Regions from separate parts of the Homo sapiens genome. Here region 1 is linked to region 2. The links are contacts of gene promoters, found by promoter capture Hi-C in blood cells and fetal thymus (Javierre and others, 2016). All regions are on one chromosome and are shown on one strand. Each heading gives the region's core, a stretch centred on a gene start or on the middle of the fragment in contact. The rest is flanking DNA. Distances are from core to core; before and after follow the strand shown.

Evidence for each region. The method cuts DNA at HindIII sites, captures the fragments that hold promoters and counts their contacts. A CHiCAGO score of 5 or more calls a contact.
Region 1: a fragment that was not itself captured here is called in contact with the fragment with the promoter of MBIP in region 2 in 1 of 17 cell types (total CD4 T cells); the score reaches 6.0 in total CD4 T cells.

The regions. Positions count from the first base shown.
Region 1 is chr14:39,426,188-39,429,541 of GRCh38, reverse strand. The region is part of intron 1 of FBXO33 (F-box protein 33); the gene reads left to right. Among named protein-coding and RNA genes, the nearest start is that of FBXO33, 4.6 kb to the left of the region's middle. The HindIII fragment of the contact is 2,172 bases long and covers 978-3,149 here.
Region 2 is chr14:36,319,087-36,322,261 of GRCh38, reverse strand. It overlaps MBIP (MAP3K12 binding inhibitory protein 1), which reads left to right and starts at 1,625. Exons shown (of 9, transcript NM_016586.3): 1 at 1,625-1,802. The coding sequence starts at 1,674. RefSeq lists enhancers at 1,227-1,276, 1,677-1,936. The HindIII fragment of the contact is 840 bases long and covers 1,260-2,099 here.

The sequences.
Region 1 (3,354 bases), core at 814-3,313, 3.1 Mb before region 2:
GATATTGGAAAAGTTAATATGAATATTAAATCCATAAATAAGACTAGTTTCCTTTAAATTTTAACAAATCTGAAAATGTTTTAAACCACATTGTTTATCAGTGACTAGTAAAGCCTATTATTTCTTTCTATAATCACTTAAACTATAGACTTGGGACATTTGACATTGCTCTTTACATTTCCAAGTTAAATTTACAATGGTTTTGCTTTATGATTTCTGCCATTCTATAAGTAGAAAAGAGGGGGTGTGAATCATACCAGATCATAAGCATTCTGCTTCCAGGCTTTGTGCTGAATTCCTTTATACAGTTCATACAATTCAGACTGTTATTTTGTTTTGTTCCAGTTATTTTCATGTCCCTCAGGAAAATAATTAAAAGTATAAACTTGAATTGTGTGAACTTTTCAAGGGTGCTGATCTTCAGAGAGGACAATTGGCATTTTGTTTTGCTTGGTTCCTGGGTTATATATATACATGTATTCTCATAGTGATTATAGTTGCCATACCTGTATCTTAGGTTTTAGGAACAACTAATAAGGATAAAGAAGGTGCATAAGTGCCTCTCTGAGGGTAACACACAGTCCTTCACGTTTCAGAAATTCCTTCTCTACAGGGCACTAGGATACCTGTCTTCTTCATTAATAGTAAGAACAGAGGGGCAGTAAGTACTCATTCAACTGTATTTTAGGTCACATAGGCTGAATTTCTCTGCAGTCGTTCTATAAGAAATTGTACCTAGAAGTGCAAACAACAAATAGATATAAATGCATTTTTAGCATTTAATCCAGTTGTCAGGTTGGGTACTGCCTATTAAAATGCTGTATTTCAGACTCCTTAGGAAAAACGAGAGCTCATGGTAAGATTTATGATAATAGGTAATAGACTCAGTCACTAAAAATACCTGAAGAGTAGCCATAGGCACATTGTCTTCATCTGGTTTATGCTTCTATGGGCTGTATAAATGTTTTACATAAGCTTTTCTTGGGTGGAATGCTGTTAGGGGCAGTACTTTTTTGTTGTTGTTGAGAATTCATATCGTTGGCCAGGGGTGGTGGCTCACACCTGTAATGACAGCACTTTCTGGGAGGCCGAGACGGGTGGATCACTTGAGGTCAGGAGTTCGAGACCAGCCTGGTCAATATGGCAAAACCCCATCTCTTTTAAAATACATAGCCGGGTGTGGCAGTGCATGCCTGTAATCCCAGCTACTCAGGAGGCTGAGGCAGTAGAATCGCTTGAAGTCAGGAGGCAGAGGTTGCAGTGAATAGAGATCGTGCTACTGCACTCCATCCTGGGTGACAGAGCCAGACTCCGTCTCAAAAAAAAATTTAAAAAAAAAGAATGCATATTGTAACAGACCAGAGAAATTTTGTACAAGATTGATTTTCTTTTTAAGATTCTGGGTACAGCTCTAACTGCTTGTATGTAGATTGACCATTTCATGACTGTGTCTGCTTATATATCCTGTAAGTTAAAAAGGATCTATTAATAATACTTAGATTTGGGTCTTGTTGATTTGGCATGCACAGTGAAGGAGAATCTTACCTTTGTATTGTTTCCTACCAAGAAACAATAATAAAGACATTTAAAAATATTTTGAGACAGAGTCTTGCTCTGTGACTCAGGATGGAGCAATCATGATCATAGCTCACTGCAGCCTCAAATTCCTGGGCTCAAATGATCCTCCCACCCCAGCCTCCCTAGTAGCTAGGACTACAGGCATGCACCACCATGCCTGGCTGATATATATATTTTTTTAATTTTGTGTAAAGACAGGATCTCACTGTGTTGCCCAGGCTGGTCTCTAATACCTGGCCTCATATGATTCTCCCATTTCTGCCTCCTAAGGTGCTGGGATTACAGGTGTGATCCCCTGCACCCTGCCTAAAAATGCATTTTAAAATGGGTTAAAAATTCCCTGGACATTTCAGATTACTACCTAAGATGGTAGAAAATGCCTTGAAGGTATTATCTCCAACAGTTTTTAGCCTTATTTTTCTTGAAATATTTCTCCTGTGGTAGTATAATAAATATGTCTAACAATGTTTCATCTCTGAGAGTTTACTTTGTTATTATTTACTTTAAAAAGCCCATTTACAGAATAAATATATTAAAATATACTGGGCCTGTGACCAATCTGCCCTGTTCAAGAATTAGTTTCCTGTGACACTGCATTCCCAGCAGGCTCCTTACCTAAAAACTGAAAAAGAGGCTCCTTAGGGATAGCCTCAAAGTTACTGAGAAGGAAAGCTAAAGAAACTAACCTCCTGGAAGGCTGTTATGAGAGGTTTTAGGACTTTTTATTCCACAGCTGTATTGGCAACTGATAGATGGAATAGGGTGTAAAACTCAAGGAAAAAAAAGTTAAAATTTTTTGACTGTGTTAAATGAGGGTGTTAAGCAGCTTTTGAGTGGAGTGATTAAATATCTCCATTTTAATTTGTTAGTTCTGAGGCAGCCTTGGGAGAGTTCACCAAACTTGACCAATTTATTTAGGAGCTAAAATGATAGTTATAGAAAATCTAGGGTTTTTTCCTCCAATTATTGAGAGCGTACTATGTGCCAGGCGGGGAAGACATGCTTCCCGTTCTCACGGAGTCATTCTAGAGGAGGAAGGAAGACAGAAACAAGTAGACAAAGGAAAGAAGGATTATTTCAGGTTGTGAAAATAAAATCTGAAAATAAAACAGAAGGATGTAATAGTCACTAGGTGGCAACATTAGGTAAAGTGTCAGGGAAACCTCTTTTGAGAAGGATATTTGAGCTGCAGCATGAATAACAAGCGTTGCCCATCTGAAGATCTGAGCAAATAGCATTCCACACACAAGAAACAGTAAGCGCTAAGGTCTTGAGCCAGACAAATTTTTGGTCTGTTCGAGCAGTGGAAAAGAAAGTGTGACAGGGCTGTGGCAAGTGAGGATGAAAATGATGCCATGATGAGTTCTGAGAAGTAGAAGAAGGAAGAATTGGGGTTAGGTAGGCTTATTTAATGAAGTTTGGAATATATTCCAAGGATAGAAGAAGTCACTGAAAAAAATTTTAAGGACAAGAATAATGTGATATCATTTGCATTTTAAGACAATCACCCTGGCCATTTTATGAGCGACTTAGGGACCAAGAGAGAAAGTAGGGGGACAAGTTGGGAAGCTTTTACTGTACTCTAAGCAAGAGATGATGGTAGCTTGAACTATGATGGAGGCAGGAGAGATGAAAAAAAGTGGATGGATTTTGGAAGTATAGCCCAGAGTACTCACCAGTTAGATGTGGGTAGTAAGACAAAAGGAAAAAACAATATTTTTTCATCATTTCTTTCTCACTCGATTTTCTTGTCCTTATTATTGTTAAAATTATCTT
Region 2 (3,175 bases), core at 376-2,875:
AAATCACAGAATTACATGGAGAAGCAATACACAGATCAAATGGCCATCAGTTAATTCTGTATTAGAGGCTCAAAAGAACAAGTAAAACTTGAAAATTCAAAATCAATGATGGCAAAGAAAGGAATAGCAGCACCTTGTTAAAGACAACATTTTTTAAATATACAAAGCATATTCCCAAATGTGTTGCATATCAGTGTTCTCCATATTTGAAAAAATATGAAACACCTCAATGAAAACAAATGATCTGAAACTGATTGCTAATTTGGTACAAAACAAAAACTTACAGTTACCCCATTACCATGCTTGAATAAGAAGGTTGCTCAATTTGAGACTGGACATTGTGAAGTATTTTTCTGCCTGTAGAAATAGGCTGGAATGTCAGTTGTATATCTTGCTGCCAACAAGGGAACAGAAAAGATTTCCCAAGATTCTGTCAAGCCTGGTGATCCCATTTGTCTTTGGAAATGAAAGCCTAATTAAGAGACTCCCTAGGGACAGGTCAAAGGAGTTTTTATCCCCATCGTCCTTATCTTAGTTCCTTGATGCATTAGTCCTTCCCTTTAATTTAGTCTACCCTAAAACTAAAGAATACACATTGTGCAAGTTTCCACCTTTGCTTTCTCTACTGTAAATGCATTAGACTATTAACAGAATTACGAGTTTTAAATCCCACCTTCCTTATCTCTAAGCTGATGTTGATTTCTTAAAGTGTTTTTGAATAAAGCTTAACACTAAAAATTATTGTAATACTTTAATTGGATAACACTTTTTAAAAATATCGGAGTCTGACTAAAAGATTACAAAACCCCACAAACATCGTTATAATAAAGCTATTATGATAAATAATACTTTGTAAAATTTGAATTCGGTTTTATGTCCTAATTTCAAAGATTGTGGTTGCATGATATTATTTATCCAGGTTAAATTCCTGTTGGAATTATATTGACAGTGTTTCATTTCTTTGAAACAATTTTAGGGTTAAGCGTCTCTACAGTTAAAACAGAGAATATCAACTGTAGTCCCAGTTACTCAGGAGGCTGAGGCAGGAGAACCGCTTGAACCTGGGAGGCGGAGGTTGCAGTGAGCCGAGGTAGTGCCACTGCACTCCAGTCTGGGCGACAGAGTGAGACTCTGTCTCCAAAACAACAACAACAAACTTGAAGAGATGAAAATGTTCTATCCAATCATGATAATTCCGTGTGAGTTTTCCAATGTTTAGAAACACGTGTGGGCACCACTCCATCCCTGACCAGCAAGCTTCCTCCAGACCCACTCCACACCGCCATGTTAAAATGTCAACTTTTACTTTTTGGACTCAAACTACAAAATTTAACTATGTCTCCTCTTACCAAGATTCACAATGAACACCTAGGAGTCAAGGTAGGCTTCATAACGCTAAAGAGACCACGACTCTAATGACCACCCCAAACACAGCATTCCAGCCTAGCTGTGGTCTGCAATTACCCACTTCAGAGCCTCGGCGCAATGTCACAGCTGCAACTGATTGGTGTAACGTGCTTGTCATTCACATAGAGAGGGTGGGGCCTCAAAGCCCGATCTAAACCAGACTCCGTGTCTTACGTCATCGCCAAGCGACTAAAGCTGGAAGGGAGGGGGCGGGGTTGTGAGCAAATCTTGGTGGTGGTGGTGGTGGGGCGGCCTGAGAAGATATCATGGCTGCTGCCACGGAGCTTAATCGCCCGAGCAGCGGTGACAGGAACCTGGAGCGAAGATGCAGACCCAACCTCTCCCGAGAGGTGCTCTACGAAATCTTTCGCTCCCTACACACCCTGGTTGGACAGGTGAGAGGTGGCCTGAGGGACTGGGAATATGGAAACCATCCGGTCCCTCCTCGCCATTCTTTTTCTCTAGCAGAGGCCGGGGGCAGCTAGGCCTGCAGAGGTGTGGGATGCGGTCCCGAAGCCGAGGTGTGGAAGGAGCCCGGGCCCAGCCTCCTCGGTCGGAGTGAGGAGGACGGCGGTACCGGTTGCAGAGTCGTTTACCTTGCAGCTGTCCTCCCCAAGAGTGGGTGAGGTTGGCCTAAGTGAAAACCCGGCTCCGAGAGAGGCAGGCTTGGAGAGAATGAATGTGGAAAAGCTTCACTGCGAGTTTAGGAGGCGCTTAGCGTTCAGGGTCCTTTTTCCTCCAACTTACTCTTTATGGGAATTGGTTGGTCAGTAGGCCTGAGATTTATAGAAAAGCGCGCGCTTATTAGCTTTTTTTGGTGGGGGAGGGAGTAATTTGTTCTTATGAGTTACTTGGTTTTGTTTATTTCTTTTTTCCTTCGGGCTGTTTTGCGCATCTATAATCCTTTCAAATGGGGAGAAAAGTAAAAGGAATTCATTTAAAATACTTCTAGCGTAAAATGCTGTTGGCGTTAGAACTGTCGTTATTTAACTATTAACTAGTTTAACTGGCTGATAAATCGCTTTTGCAGAAATGTCATAGTAAAATTGGTTTTAAATTGAAATGGGCTTCTTCGATCAAGTCACTGTTTCGTTTCATGGTGTAAAATTCAAGTTTTAAATGAGAAACAATTTAAAAGTATGCTTGTTTACCTGCCTTTTAAAAGGAAATATTTTCTATCTTACATAGACCATTTTCTAGCCGTAAAAGTTTGTTTTGGGGCTGGTACTAGCGCAAGTGGACAAAGCAGGCATTTGTGTCAAAGATAATGGTAAATTCCTATGAAAATAGAACATTTGTCTGATTTGTGAAAATTATTTTTAAAGCCTTGAGTAGATGGAGAATCAGTCTTTTAAGAAGTTACTATTTTTAAAAATCGTAGTATGTTGTGTCTTACAAAGAACATTACTGTAAGTTAAACGGTTTTATGAAATGACGCAGTTATTAATGGAGTCTGCTTAAAGATATAACTTTTAAATTCAGTTGTTTGCCAAGTACTTACCAAAAACATTTTTTAAAGACTTGGGGTGTTTTGTTATTAACATTCCATTCTTAAGACCCAAGACGTTTAAATGGTTTAAAAGTTAGAGAACTTTTTATGGCGACGTTGGAACTTAAGTTTATTTATTTTATAATGTCAAGATGAAAAAAGTTTATTCTCACCTGTTAACAGAAGATGGAATATTTTTAAAAAATACTGAGCAATGATTTAAACATTTCTTTTGAAATATTTTGCATACTGAATTTTTCAAACTCATTAGAAAATTTT